Linked DNA regions of Homo sapiens: regions 1, 2, 3 and 5 are each linked to region 4. The links are contacts of gene promoters, found by promoter capture Hi-C in blood cells and fetal thymus (Javierre and others, 2016). All regions are on one chromosome and are shown on one strand. Each heading gives the region's core, a stretch centred on a gene start or on the middle of the fragment in contact. The rest is flanking DNA. Distances are from core to core; before and after follow the strand shown.

Evidence for each region. The method cuts DNA at HindIII sites, captures the fragments that hold promoters and counts their contacts. A CHiCAGO score of 5 or more calls a contact.
Region 1: a contact is called between a fragment that was not itself captured here and the fragment with the promoter of MUTYH in region 4, in 16 of 17 cell types (naive CD4 T cells, naive B cells, M1 macrophages and 13 more). The highest score is 14.9, in naive CD4 T cells.
Region 2: a contact is called between the fragment with the promoter of PTCH2 here and the fragment with the promoter of MUTYH in region 4, in 8 of 17 cell types (endothelial precursors, M1 macrophages, total B cells and 5 more). The highest score is 10.5, in endothelial precursors.
Region 3: a contact is called between a fragment that was not itself captured here and the fragment with the promoter of MUTYH in region 4, in 2 of 17 cell types (endothelial precursors and M1 macrophages). The highest score is 6.6, in endothelial precursors.
Region 5: a contact is called between a fragment that was not itself captured here and the fragment with the promoter of MUTYH in region 4, in 1 of 17 cell types (erythroblasts). The highest score is 5.8, in erythroblasts.

The regions. Positions count from the first base shown.
Region 1 is chr1:45,017,961-45,020,660 of GRCh38, forward strand. It overlaps ZSWIM5 (zinc finger SWIM-type containing 5), which reads right to left. Exons shown (of 14, transcript NM_020883.2): 12 at 2,665-2,700; 13 at 2,106-2,187; 14 at 1-1,356. The coding sequence ends at 494. Among named protein-coding and RNA genes, the nearest start is that of UROD, 7.1 kb to the left of the region's middle. The HindIII fragment of the contact is 2,051 bases long and covers 311-2,361 here.
Region 2 is chr1:44,841,956-44,844,712 of GRCh38, forward strand. It overlaps PTCH2 (patched 2), which reads right to left and starts at 1,298. Exons shown (of 22, transcript NM_003738.5): 1 at 906-1,298; 2 at 1-84. The coding sequence starts at 977. RefSeq lists a silencer at 1,244-1,513. The HindIII fragment of the contact is 9,661 bases long and covers 1-2,757 here.
Region 3 is chr1:44,861,959-44,864,658 of GRCh38, forward strand. All of the region lies in intron 10 of EIF2B3 (eukaryotic translation initiation factor 2B subunit gamma), which reads right to left. Among named protein-coding and RNA genes, the nearest start is that of PTCH2, 20 kb to the left of the region's middle. The HindIII fragment of the contact is 4,199 bases long and covers 1-2,700 here.
Region 4 is chr1:45,338,688-45,341,387 of GRCh38, forward strand. MUTYH (mutY DNA glycosylase) reads right to left here and starts at 1,283. Exons shown (of 16, transcript NM_001048174.2): 1 at 1,212-1,283. TOE1 (target of EGR1, exonuclease) reads left to right here and starts at 1,483. Exons shown (of 8, transcript NM_025077.4): 1 at 1,483-1,617; 2 at 2,386-2,528; 3 at 2,616-2,656. The coding sequence starts at 1,566. RefSeq lists enhancers at 805-1,472, 1,473-2,141, 1,494-1,843, 2,142-2,700. The HindIII fragment of the contact is 741 bases long and covers 964-1,704 here.
Region 5 is chr1:45,038,988-45,041,687 of GRCh38, forward strand. ZSWIM5 (zinc finger SWIM-type containing 5) reads right to left here. Exons shown (of 14, transcript NM_020883.2): 7 at 1,405-1,551; 8 at 1-86. Among named protein-coding and RNA genes, the nearest start is that of UROD, 28 kb to the left of the region's middle. The HindIII fragment of the contact is 2,198 bases long and covers 198-2,395 here.

The DNA.
Region 1 (2,700 bases), core at 86-2,585, 320 kb before region 4:
GAGTCTCCTCAGAAAATAAGCATATCCTCCTACCCACAGCTACTTCAAGTGCCCATCAAATCAGAAGCAGAATTATAAATAGTTACAAGTTTACAATAATTAGCAACACATATAGTATTTACAGTCCCACAAATGTGTCTGTTTCTCTGGTTAAGCAATCCCTGAGATGGAACAGTGTTCTGTGTTTGCCAAGGGAGACAGGGCCAATGCTCAGGACACGCAGGATATAGGGGCATGAGGTGGCATGTTGTGGGGTTTCTGGTCGATCTGCAGGGCCCAGCTCCTCCATGAACAGTAGGCTGTAGTCAGAAGCTTGCCAAGGTAGGCATTATCGACTAGAGCTGGACTTTCCCCATCCTTAGCCCTGTGGTCCTTTGGCCTCATCCACAGGTGCTCAGAGTTCTCTCAGGGTGGACAAATGTTTCAGTGCCCTTGGCCTGACCTGATACTACCTGGGAACCCAGGCTGCTCTGGCAGTGAGCTATCTGCTCTCTCAGCCAAAGCGCTCTCGCACCAGCAGCATCAACTTTTTCTTGCCTTTGTAGATCTGTTTGAGGTTGTCGATGAACTGGGCAAACTGCAGGTGGCCATCCTGGGGCAGCAGGAAGGTCTCCCGAGCCTTGCTTAGAAACTCAATGAACTCTCCATAGTGGCGAGGGCTGATGTGTGTTAGGCGTGAGTGTGTAGTGTTGATATAGGCATTGATGGTGGCATCCAGCAACTGGCGCAATGGAGCTTTGTCAGTGGACATGAGCTTTCCAGAGCTTCGGCGGCCTGGGATGCCGGCCAGGCCAGGTGCAGTCACTGTGCAGCGTCGTAAGATGTCTGAAAGCACTGTGGCACAGTGCACACTCTTCACCACCAGGGGGATGAGAGCTGCCAGCTCATTCTTGCCCAGAGAGTGGCTGAGAGCACAAGCCCAGAGCACATCATTGATGGCTGGGTGAGTATCCTGGTTGTAGGCCAGGTTAAGATGGCTCATGGCCAATGAGGCCAGCTTGAAGGCACGTAGCGGGTAGCCACGGAGCTCCATGTAGCGGGCGATGGTGAACAGCTGTGAATGGGTCATACCACCAGCAGCAGCATCAATGGCAATCTGGTAGGCTGCCTCAAAGGCAATGTGGTCTTTCTCACAGAGTGTAAGGGCTGACAGGGCACAGCTCTGTGGATCCTTCATAGCACACTGTAGAGCCAGTGTGCGAGCACAGCTAGCCAGTTCCTCCCGCTGTGGATAGTCAAGACTGAGGCGCAGGATAGTGGTGTGGGATACGGCTGTGGCAGCTACAATACTAGTAGCCTCAGTAGGGGTGAAGAGTGTGTACCAGCTCTGCAAGATGCTCACCAGGGCCCGCACACCTGTCAGGGGGAGCCTGAGCTCAGCCGTGGCCATCTGGGTCCTGATTCAGGTCTACCCAGATTACCATTTGGGGTTTGAACTTGGCCTGCAGAGATGAATTCTTCCTCCTCAGCAACCTTGAGATGATATGAGGCAAACCAGGGCAAGGGGAGCATCCCAGATGGCCAGACCCTGTTTGGGGTCTCTTCCTATCCCTTCTTTCCCCAGGTCAGAGAGTTGAAGGTTTCTGCAGGTGCTCTTAGCCCCTCACAAGGATGGGACAGTAGAGCCTGGGGTTTGCTTGCCCTGAGGCATGGGTTACAGATCTGCCAGGGGTTCTAGCTGAAGTGGGGCCTCTCAGGGTAGAGTCTTGTGCTGGGGCTTTGGGCTTTAGAAAGGGTCCTGAGCCTCTAAGTTGTCTGGAGTTTTTTACAAGCATGCACAGGGATGGGGACCAAACCACTGGGCCCACTACCTCCCAAGGGAGCACTTGAGTAGCAACTGAAAATTCATTCTCTTAGACATGTCTCTGTTGAGAGGATCAAGGGCTGCTGACATCAGGATATGGTTCAAGCAGTGAAGACAGGGCTTGGGCTGGCTGAACAGAGGCCACCTTCTCCTACCAGCAGCCCCATCCTTTCTTAGGCCATCTCCTGATGGACCTAAGATCTCATAGGAATATGAGAGCTCTAAGGATTGATTGTCCTGTCCCAAGAGTAGGGCCTAGAAACTCCTTTCCCCTGGGGGTAGAGGGAGGTGGGAGACTCACCCACTTCTGTAGCACAGGTCACCAACCATCGTACCATCTCCCTGCGTCTCCAGTTAAGGGTTGATAAGGTCATCCGCATCACCTGGGCACAAAAGAGGCCTTTCCAGTGGGCTATGCCTAACTGTTGTGACCTCTCCCTCCCCTTGCATTCATTTATGCGACAAATATTTTCTGGTGCTTTAAACAGTGGTCTCTCCGCTGATAAACATAAAATACAGTTAATTTCTTTCCCAGCCCTCCCACCAATCAGATAGGAAGCTTCTCTGATGATCTGCAGCAAAGTCCTTATTATCATACCTTGCTTGACTTGTAGAAATGGGGAGGTAGAGAGAAGATAGGGACCCCAGGGAGCCTAAAGCTTTATCTTGCTTCTGGCCTTAACTTAAAAGTGGAGCCCAATTTATGAAATCCTTGCCTTTTCCCTAGCCTAGAACTTGTGTTCTGGGCCCAAAGGAAGAGCCAGACTTGGCCTATGCCCAGTCTCCCAGAGATCTTATCTTCTGCCAACTGTCACTAGGTCAGCGGTCTAAACTGTGGATGGCCTACTCTTCCTCCATACCTGTAACCCAAGTTCCAGGGCAACGTTGAGCAGGGT
Region 2 (2,757 bases), core at 48-2,547, 500 kb before region 4:
CTGGATCCCGCATCCCAGAGAGAAGAGCAGGCCCTGGAAGTAAGCACGAAGCCAGAGTGGAGCCTTCAGGCTCCCAGCTAGGATCTGGGATGGAAAGAGAAGGGTCAGCCAGGCATCACTGCAACAATGCATGAAATCCTTCCCTTCTCACCCTGTATATCTGCTGCCCAGCCCTCGCTTCTTGATTTCTGGATGTGGGACAGGGAGCACCAACACAGACACAGGCCCAGACTTGGAAGATGTAACACCCACCATCCCCAGCACACACCTGAGGAAGGCATAGGCCTATTTTCCTTTCTTTTCTTTTTGTTTTCTCTCCTTTTTTTTTTTTTTTTTTTTTTTGAGACGCAGTCTCGCTCTGTTGCCCTGGCTGGAGTGCAGTGGTGTGATCTCGGCTGACTGCAACCTCCGCCTCCCAGGTTCAAGAGATTCTCCTGCCTCAGCCTCCCGAGTAGTTGGGACTACAGGCGCCCGCCACCACGCCCTGCTAATTTTTTATTTTTAGTAGAGACAGAGTTTCCCCATGTTGGCCTGGCTGGTCTCGAACTCCTGACCTCAGGTAATCTGCCTGCCTCAGCCTCCCAGTGTTGGGATTACAGGCGTGAGTCACCGCGCCCGGCCGGCATAGGCCCATTTTCTGAGAGCAGGATACATATGTACACACACCTGTCGTCGGGTGGACACAGAGGTGAACCCACAGACATTCATTCTCACTGGCCAGACGATGAGGAGACACCGGCACAGACACACCGACACACACGCACAACTTGCTTGCGGTGCTGGCTCTCACTTGCCTTCAGACATCTAATGACACTCGGCACTTCAAGACATCACAAACCTTGCAGAGGCCCGAGTGACAGACCTGGCTCCGCTCTCTTCCTTCTTCCAGCTCCCCCTCTACTCACCTGGGGTGCTGCGGTTCGAGCTGGGGGTGTGTAACTCGGGGGCAGCTCTCTGAGGGGCGGCGATCGAGTCATGCTGGCGGGGATGGGGGGCGCGGGCGCCCCCAACCCGCGTTATCTGGGCGCTCCCATAGGCTAGCCCGGTCTCCCGGTACCGCTGGGCCCCGCGTAGGGATTCAGTGGGGCCGCCAAGGCGCGGGCGTGGGAGAGACTGTGGGGTGTGGGTGTTAAAGCGGCTGGGAGGGAGGAGTGCAGGGAGCTGCGGGTCCGGGGCGCGGCGCCGGGATTCACCCGCTCCGTGGGCCGTGGGCCGCGGCGGCTGGAGGAGGAATGGGTCCCGCGCGCAGGCGGAATTGCTGGCCCGAGACGCACAGCAGGGCTCGAGGTGGCAACTGCAGTCCCCGGGAGGCGGCTGGAGCTCCAGAAAAGGGAGCTGGCCGGGGCGACGCCCTCCCATTGGCTGAGGGGCCCGCAAATTACCCTAGCCGCGCGGCCCGGCCCGCTGCTAGGTAACGGCGCCGCAGGGGGCGGGGCGGGAGACCACCCAGGCTGGGCCACCCCGCGCCTCCCTCCCGCCCGCGGGGCCCCAGGGAGGAGGAGGGAGGGGGATCCCGGAGAGGCGCAGCGCCGGCCAAGTGTAAGTCCAGAGGCTTACGCTGAGAAAGGGCCTTTGCGGGCTCTGTTAGGGATACACTTTTTTTTTTTTTTTTAAGACGGGGTCTCACTCTGTCACCCAGGCTGGAGTGCAGTGGCTCCATCTCGGCTTGCAGGCTCCGCCTTCCAGGCTCAAGCCATCCTCCCACCTCAGCCTCCCGAGTAGCTGGGATCACAGGCATGCACCACCACGCCCGGCTTTTTGTATTTTTGGTAGAGAACGGGTTTCGCCATGTTGCCCCGGTTGGTCTCAGACTCCCGAGCTCAGGATATCCGCCCGCCTCAGCCTCCCAAAGTGTTGGGATGACAAGCGTGAGCCACCGCGCCCGGCCTAGGGCCACAATTTCTTTTTCTTTTCTTTTTTTTTTTTTTCAGGCTTAATTCACTTTATTTTTCTTGTATAAAAACCCTATGTTGTAGCCACAGCTGGAGCCTGGATCCTCTGCGCGGAGACTCTGGTGTGGGTCTTGACGAGGTGGTCAGTGAATTCCTGATAGGGAGACTTGGTGAATACAGTCTCCTTCCAGAGGTCGGGGGTCAGGTAGCAGTAGGTCTTAGAGATGGCATCAAAGTGGGTAGGGCCACACTTTCTTTCCGACCCAATCAAAGCCCAAGATTTCTTCTGTTCACTCTTCCCGGCTTCCATTCTTGCCCTCTTCAGTCCACTCTCTCCACTGAGACCAGAGTCATTTCTCTAACATGCAAATCTGATAGCTCCAAAGCACAAGGCCCACTTGGAGCACAGGGCCCTGTGTGATCTAGCTAAAGCCTTCTCTCCCATAGTTCCCTCACATCAGTGTTCCCTCGTTCCTGCCTTTGTACATGTTTTGGTCCTTTTGTCTTGGCAGATAATCTTCAAAAACTGAACTTGAATCACCCCCAAAACCCACCTTTTTTTTTTTTTTTTTGAGGCAGGATCTCCCTCTGTTGCCCAGGTTGGAGTGCAGTGGTGCCTTCACAGCACACTGCAGCCTTGAGCTCCCAGTCTCAAGGGATCCTCCCACCTCGACCTCCCAAATGGCTGGGACTACAGGTGTGCACCACCACACCTAGCTAATTTTTGTAATTTTGTATAGACAGGGTTTTGCCATGTTGCCCAGGTTGGTCTCAAACTCCTGGGCTCAGGTCATCTGCCCACCTGGGCCTTCCAAAGTGCTGGAATTATAGGCGTGAGCCACTGTACCCAGCCTACCCCCTCTTT
Region 3 (2,700 bases), core at 177-2,676, 480 kb before region 4:
TTTCCCCATCCAAGAAGAAACTCCAGGATCAAGGACTTTACTGGGAGTGTATCTGTTCATGCTACAGGGAATGGAAAGATAGGACCTTATCAAACAAACCCTCTCTAGGTTGCCAATTGGCAGCAAGGACTCTGTCTTTTCTGTTTAGTGCCTAAGGAGAGAGAAGAGGTGAGTTCCTATAGTCCAACAAAAGAGCTTGTTCCAGACTAGAATTACAGCTTCTGCATCCTAGTTTTAACTCTCAGGTTGGCACGAAGCACTCCGCTGTGCTAATGTCTAGCTGTGTTCTCTAAGACGCTGCTCAGTGATGGCTAAGACTAATGGAGACTTGGTCCTCATTTCTCCTTGGTAGGTTCAAATTTCAAGCACAGAGGCAGGCTTTGCAAAATTACTCTGAAAACTGTAACGTTTCAGTGGAAAGGAGGCCATGAGAAAAACAGAGTACTACAGTAAGATCACTGCTTGGCCAGGCACACCACACTATACTATGTTGTGGCATATCACCTGAGGAAGAAGGCTAACTGAGAAGCAAGAGTGCCTCCAAATTCTTGCTCCTCTTCTGGCTTTAGGTAGGACTTCTTTCAGTTATTTCAAGGGAGGAAAGGGAACTCACATATATCTAATGTCTAATACATCTCAGTCATTATATAAAGCACTTTACACTCATTTATTATTATTATTTTTTGAGATGGAGTCTCACACTGTCGCCCGGACTGGAGTGCAGTGGCGCGATCTCGGCTCACTGTCTCCTGCCTCAGCCTCCCAAGTAGCTGGAATTACAGGCATCTGCCATCATGCCCGGCTAATTTTTTGTATTTTTAGTAGAGATGGGGTTTCATTATGTTGACCAGGCTGGTCTCGAATGCCTGACCTCATGATCTACCCGCCTCAGCCTCCCAAAGTGTTGGGATTACAGGCGTGAGCCACTGCACCCAGCCTACACTCATTTTATAACTGAATCCTTTCAGCAAACTTGCAGGGATGGTGGTATTTATTCCAATTTTTACAGAGAAAATTGAGACTCACAGATGTTAGGCAATGTGCACAGGCCTAAAGTGACACTCCACTGTATCACGGGCTCCTGCTTCAGATATTGACTTAGAGAATATTCGGCAAAGAGCCATGAAACTTCTCAGTAACTGAGGATGGGGAGGTTCTTTTCTTTTTTGATGAGTTGACAGGCTTTCTAAACTACTCATGACCCTGGGGGAAGAAAAGAGAATGAAACTGAAGATATGTGTAGCTTTTCTAGGCATGTGACTAAGGTCTGCTCTAGGCCAACTCAACACTTTGGCCGAAAGATTATGGCTGAGTCACCCATAATCTCTCTAGGTACTGGGAGCCTCCTAACCTAAGCCCTTCTAAGCTGGTCCAAGTATCTCTCTAGAGAAAGAATCATGTGTTATTTTTATTAAAAGTTATTTTTTATTATTTATAATTTAAAACAATTCTTTTTGGTAGAGATGGAATTTTGCTATGTTGCCCAGGCTGGTCTCAAACTCCTGGCCTCAAGTGATCCTTCTGTCTCAGCCTTCAAAGTGTTGGGATTACATGTGTGAGCCACTGCATCTGGCAACCATGTATTATTTTTAATGAAATATTTTAAGTATAGAAAAAAACCTAGAGAATAATATAAAGAACGCCTGTGTATCCACCAAACAGCTTGAGAAACAAACAATCCAACTTGCTAAGCATCTTTCTTTCATCCCATTTCCTTCCTTCTTCCACCAGGGTATCCATTATTGGACTGTGGTGTTTCTTGTTCCTAAGTATTTTTACTACATTTATTAAACATACAATATTTTTAATGTTTTAGAATTGTACATACATGTTACCGTTCTGTGTATCCTTCTGCAACTTGCTTTCCCCTCTTCAACATCATATTTGTGATTTATCCAGGTTAATTCAGGTAATGATATATATAATACTTGAAGAAATGATCTTACCTTTTCCCTGTTTCTGGTCACTCTTGCTCTTGGGTCCTCTAGATTAAAAGGTACTGACTCCAGTGAGCAGGCTGAAAATTTCCTCCTTTTAGTTCTGTATGCCCCCCTTCACTATATAAGATTTTGTGGTGAGAAATGGCTCCCTCCTAAGAAATCTAAGTCCTTGTATTCCCTAAGCAGAGGCTAGGGAGTTTAGGGGAAATCAAAGCAAAGATGTAACAGCCTTAAAGAGTTAAGCTGCAGAATTCTTCATCTAAGATGGGTTTAGTGCAAATGGTTCAAAGGTAGGGAATGAACCAAAAGCCATTAGGAGCCCCTTTAATCCAGGGGATCTTCCCAAAGTGTCATAATTTGGTGTTTTTAAGAGTATGACAGAAGTGCTGGGCTCGGTGGCTCATGCCTGTAATCCCAGCATTTTGGGAGGCTGAGGCGGGTGGATCACCTGTGGTCAGGAGTTCAAGACCAGCCTGGCCAACATAGCAAACCCCGTCTACTAAAAATACAAAAATTAGCCTGGCGTGATGGTGTGTGCCTGTAGTCCCAGCTACTCGGAAGGCTGAGGTGGGAGGATAGCTTGAACCCAGGAGGCAGAGGTTGCAATGAGCCAAGATCATGCCACTGCACTCCAGCCTGGGTGACACAGCGAGACTCTGCCTCCAAAAAGAATTCTTTTAACAATTATGTACTTTTCTGCAACTCTAATTACCTCTAATTGGACTTATATTTAAGAGGATTCACTTTTATACCTTAAACT
Region 4 (2,700 bases), core at 33-2,532:
TCAAAAGAGTTTCCCTTTTTTAGGATAGGAGAAATCCAAAGAGTTTTTTTATTTTTGTTTTTTTTTTGTTTGTTTGTTTTGTTTTTAGAGACAGTGTGTCCCTCACTTTGCTGCTCTGCCACTCAGGCTGGAGTGCAATAAGAACATGGCTCACTGCAGCCTCGACCTCCTGGGCTCAAGCCATCCTCTCACCTCAGCCTCCTGTAGCTGGGACTACAGGTGCGCACCACCATGCCCAACTAATTTTTAATTTTCTTTTTGTAGAGACAAGGTTTCACTATGTTGCCCAGGCTAGTCTTGAACTCCTAGGGTCAAGCGATCCTCCCACCTTGGCCTCCTAAGATGATTACAGGCCATAAGCCACTGCGCCCGGCCCAAGCAGTTCTGAATAATGATGAAATGGGCTCAGTTGAGAGAAGCTGAAGATTAACTATAAACAATGAGTAACAAAGGAGCACTGGAAGGCAGAGGTGGATGGGAATCGTAGTGTTTACGGAGGGACTAGTCTCCAATAGGAATTTTTTTTTTTTTTTTTTTTTTGAGACGGAGTTTCGCTCTTGTTGCCTAGGCTGAAGTGCAAAATGGCGTGATCTCGGCTCACCGCAACCTCTGCCTCCCAGGTTCAAGCGATTCTCCTGCCTCAGCCTCCCAAGTAGTGGGATTACAGGCGCCCGCACCATACCCAGCTAATTTTTTTTGTACTTTTAGTAGAGACGGGGTTTCACCATGTTGGCCAGGCTGGTTTTGAACTCCGGACCTCAGGTAATCCGCCCGCCTCGGCCTCCCAAAGTGCTGGGATTACAGGCGTGAGCCACCGCGCCCGGCCTAGGAACCTCTTTCAAATTCAATCACCCTCTAGGTCGACTATACCGCCTAGCTGCTTCACAATTTGTCCCTTCCTCGCCATCCATACTGCCAGCCTTAATTCAAGTTCACATTATCACTTGATTGGATTATTACAAAAGCTTCCCTACCAATCGGTCGCTCTTACACCCTGGGCAGCCTCCTCCGATGGCCCACTCCCCGCCTCTTTCACTTTCTGGAGATCACTGAGCTCTCCATCCTCTCTGGGAATTTACCGATGCCCAGAACGCCCTTCTTTCCCCCACACGACCCTCTCCTAGTCTAACTCCTGGGCGTGCTTTAAGCTCAGCTCAGGCAGCGTCACCTTCTCTGGAAAGCCCAAACCCAGCCACCCCACTACCCGCTACCCGCGGCCCACGCTGATGAAGACAGCAGAACACGGAGGCCCCGCGTTCCCGCCGCGAGAGCAGGAGAGAAAGATTACCTCCCGCGAGCTCTAGCGCGCCCGGCTTTCCGGCGCACTCCAGGGGGCGTGGCTCGGGTCCACCCGGGCTGCGAGCCGGCAGCACAGGCCAATAGGCAATTAGCGCGCGCCAGGCTGCCTTCCCCGCGCCGGACCCGGGACGTCTGAACGGAAGTTCGACCCATCGGCGACCCGACGGCGAGACCCCGCCCCATCCCCGACTGCCTGAACCGCGCCAGGAGACGGACCGCAAGTCCAGCGTACCCACAGACGACTCAGGCGGGAGACGAGCGGTGTCATGGCCGCCGACAGTGACGATGGCGCAGTTTCAGCTCCCGCAGCTTCCGACGGTGAGCGGCTTCCCAGAGGTAGCCTTCAAAGCCTCTGCGCTCTGGGAGAGGGGAAGGCCTCGGGCTCATAGTTCTAGAGGCTCCTCAAGCTTCAGAGGACTGCTCCTTCCGCCTGAACTAGCCACGAGGAGACTACAAGTTCCGTTGTACACCGCGGCTCCGGCTGCAAAAGCCTGGAGCGTTGGGAGCATGGGGCTGATGGAGGCATGGCGGGAGATGTAGTCTGGAGCTCATAACGGTTAGTAGTAATAGTTGTGATTCAGTTCAGTGGAGTGGATTGAGCGTTGTGATCCAAAGGAAGGTAGGACGTATTGGGAGCTCTGGTGTGGGGCACTGCCAGGCTCTGGGGCTTACTGGGAGCTGTTGCTTGTGGCGCTGGGGCACCATGAGAACAGTAGTATGGATCCCTGTGGGATATTAAGGGAGCTGAGATCCTCAAGCCCTACAAAATGTTTCCTGCAGGACATGGGAAAAAAGAATCAAAGGTCGTCTAGTCCAACTTTCTCCTCTACAGATTGTGAAAGCGAGGTGGGAAGTAATTTACCCAGGCTCATACAAGCCAGTAGAAGACTCAGGCTTCCTCTCCCCAAATTCAGGGCATTCTCCACTCCAAGGCCTGTGTGTAGAACACGTGGGTTACAAAGGCTTGTGGGAAAAGCTACCAATGGAAACTACCCCCCTTACCACCATCACCGTGGCCTAGCTTGGTGTCTGTTCCCCTGGGCTCTTTCCTTAAGCATGAACATCCATCACCCTCCTAACCCCCAGGTGGTGTCAGCAAAAGCACAACATCTGGGGAGGAGCTAGTAGTCCAGGTTCCCGTAGTGGATGTGCAAAGCAACAACTTCAAGGAGATGTGGCCATCCCTCCTGCTAGCCATAAAGACAGCTAATTTCGTGGCTGTGGACACGGTGAGAGTTGGGAAACAAGGAGGGCAGGTGGTTGTGAAGGGGCTGGTGCTAGAGGCCTGTCACAACTCTCCCTTTACCTACCCACAGGAGCTGAGTGGGCTTGGGGACAGGAAGAGTTTGCTGAACCAGTAAGTATAAGCCCTTTTCTCTTTAGTGCCAGCCCTCAACTGTG
Region 5 (2,700 bases), core at 47-2,546, 300 kb before region 4:
GAGAAACAGGCAGTCGATGGGATCCAGGGGGTGGCCCACCCAGCCCTCCAGGTTTGTGATGGTTGTGGTTCCTCTCTGCAACAGTTCTGGAAACAAGCAGGTTAAAATTTTAGACAGTGATAGAGACAAACTGCTGTCTGTCCCTGCCTGGGTCTTCTTATCAGTCTCTCCAGCCTTGACCCTGAGAGTCAAATAAAAGCTTCTCTATTGTCTTGCCTTGGGTTGATACGGCTGGCCACAAACATACCAGCCAGCTATAAGGTCACGTGGTCTGCATTTGGGTTGCCTGCTGGTAGTGCATACGTGGATAGAGCTTTACAGGTTTTTGTTTTAAGAGATACCTGAGTCTTCTGAATAGTTGGGACTACAGGCACATGCCACCATGCCCTGTTAATTTTATTTAAAAATTTATTTTTGAGACAGAGTCTCGCTCTATCGCCCAGGCCAGAGTGCAGTGGCGTGATCTTGGCTCATTGCAACCTCCGCCTCCTGGGTTCAAACAATTCTCGTGCCTCAGCCTCCAGAGTAGCTGGGACTACAGGCATGTGCCACTATGCCTGACAATTTTTGTATTTTTGATAGAACTGGGGTTTCACTATGTTGGCCAGGCTGGTCTTGAACTCCTGGCCTCAAGTGATCCACCCGATTCACCCTACCAAAGTCCTGGGATTACAGGCGTGAGCCACTGTGCCTGGCATATTTAATTTAATTTAATTTAATTAATTATTTATTTTAAGACGGAGCTCTGCTCTTGTTGCCCAGGCTGGAGTGCAATGGTGTGATCTCGGCTCACTGCAACCTCCGCCTCCTGGGTTCCAGCGATTCTTCTGCCTCAGCCTCCCAAGTAGCTGGGATTACAGGCACGCGCCACCACGCCCAGCTAATTTTTTGTATTTTTAGTAGAGATGGGGTTTCTCCATGTTGGTCAGGCTGGTCTCGAACTCCCGACCTCAGGTGATTGCCTGCCTCGGCCTCCCAAAGTGCTGGGATTACAGGCGTAAGCCACCATGCCTGGCCTTTATTTTATTTTTGTAAAGATAGGGTCTCACCATGTTGCCCAGGCTGGTCTCAAACTCCTGGCCTCAAGCAATCCTCCTACCTGGGCCTCCCAAAGTGCTGGGATTATAGGTGTGAATCACCATGCCTGTCCACAGCTTTAGAGTTTAAAAATGGTCTTCTCATACCAGATCTTAATGAGCCTTCTAACTGCCTTATGAGGGAGGCAAACAGGTATTATTCCCAAATGAACAGATGAGAAAACTGACATTCATAAAGATAAAGTGAGGCATTCCACACAGCAAGGAGAATGACCCGGAATTCCCTAGTTCTTCTGGGCCTTGTATCCCCTGAGGATCCTCATCAGCTTTGGGCCTAAGGGGGTTAGATGGCTCCTAATTACTATACCTTTCTTCTGATGCTTGTAGATTTCCAGTTGCCGCTGCTGCTGCAACCTCAGAGTATTAATAATGGCCACTGTGAGTCTGAGGGCCTCTTTTGGATAACCATGGGAACGCAGGGCGTCAACTCGAGCACAGGCTGTAGGCACATGCTCTACCAAGTAAGAAGAAGATATTTTGGTCTAGTTAAAATTTCAAGTCAGGAAAATTTATACCTGACAAAGAGAGTTTGTATTCAGTCCAGTTCCTCAAATTCAACCTGACACCTACTGTATACCAGGAACTGTGTCTTTATCTTTAAGGATATAAAAAGTTGAATAAATCACAGGTGATATCTTGAAAGAGCTACCTTGCAGCCTCAGCGTGGTCTATGGTGTAGAAAGGGACACACAAGTAGGATAATAAAATGTAGTTTCTCTTTGCAAACATATATTATACTATGGGAAACCAATGGAGGTAGCAACTAACTGCCTAATGGGAAAAGTCTCATTCATTTAATTAATCCTACATTTCCTGAAAACCTATTAAATGCCAGGGAGTATGCTGGGCAAAGAAAGTACAAAGATGAATAGGAAATGGTCATTGCCCTCAAAGAGCTCACAAATGATACATAAATGTAATTATAAAGCAGCTAAAAAGAAGTAACATGATAGAAATATATACAGAGAGAAAATAATATTTGAGCTGTGCTTTGAAGGACAAGTAAGATTTCAAACAGGTAGACAAACAGGGAAAGACATTCCTGACAAAGGAAACATAAGCAAGGGCATATTGTAAAAGCATAAAAATTATTCAATATATTAATAGCATCCATCTTCAGAGTATGGCAAATAGTTCCATGTAGTTAGAATTATGTTATGTGGCCTAAGATAGCCTGGAAAAGGTAGAGTCTGGAATGTAAACAGCTGTGAATGCCATTCTATGGAGTTTGAATTTACCTTAGGGATAATGGAAGACTACCAAACCAAAGACTTACAAATAGGTGAGTAACTATAACAAGCTTTATGGTTTATTTTGTGCTTTTTTTCTTAAAGATAAAATTAAAAATTATAGAATTGCGGAAAATTTGAAAATACATATAAAGAAATATAAAATAAAAATCAGAAATAATCACTCTTTCCAGTGTCATGTATATTTACTCACACTTTTCTAGTAACTTTTTTTTTTTTTTAGATGGAGTCTCACTCTGTCACCCAGACTGGAGTACAGTGGTGTGATCTCCGCTCACTGCAACCTCCGCCTCCCAGGTCCAAGCAATTCTCCTGCCTCAGCCTCCTGAGTAGCTGGGATTACCGATGTGTGC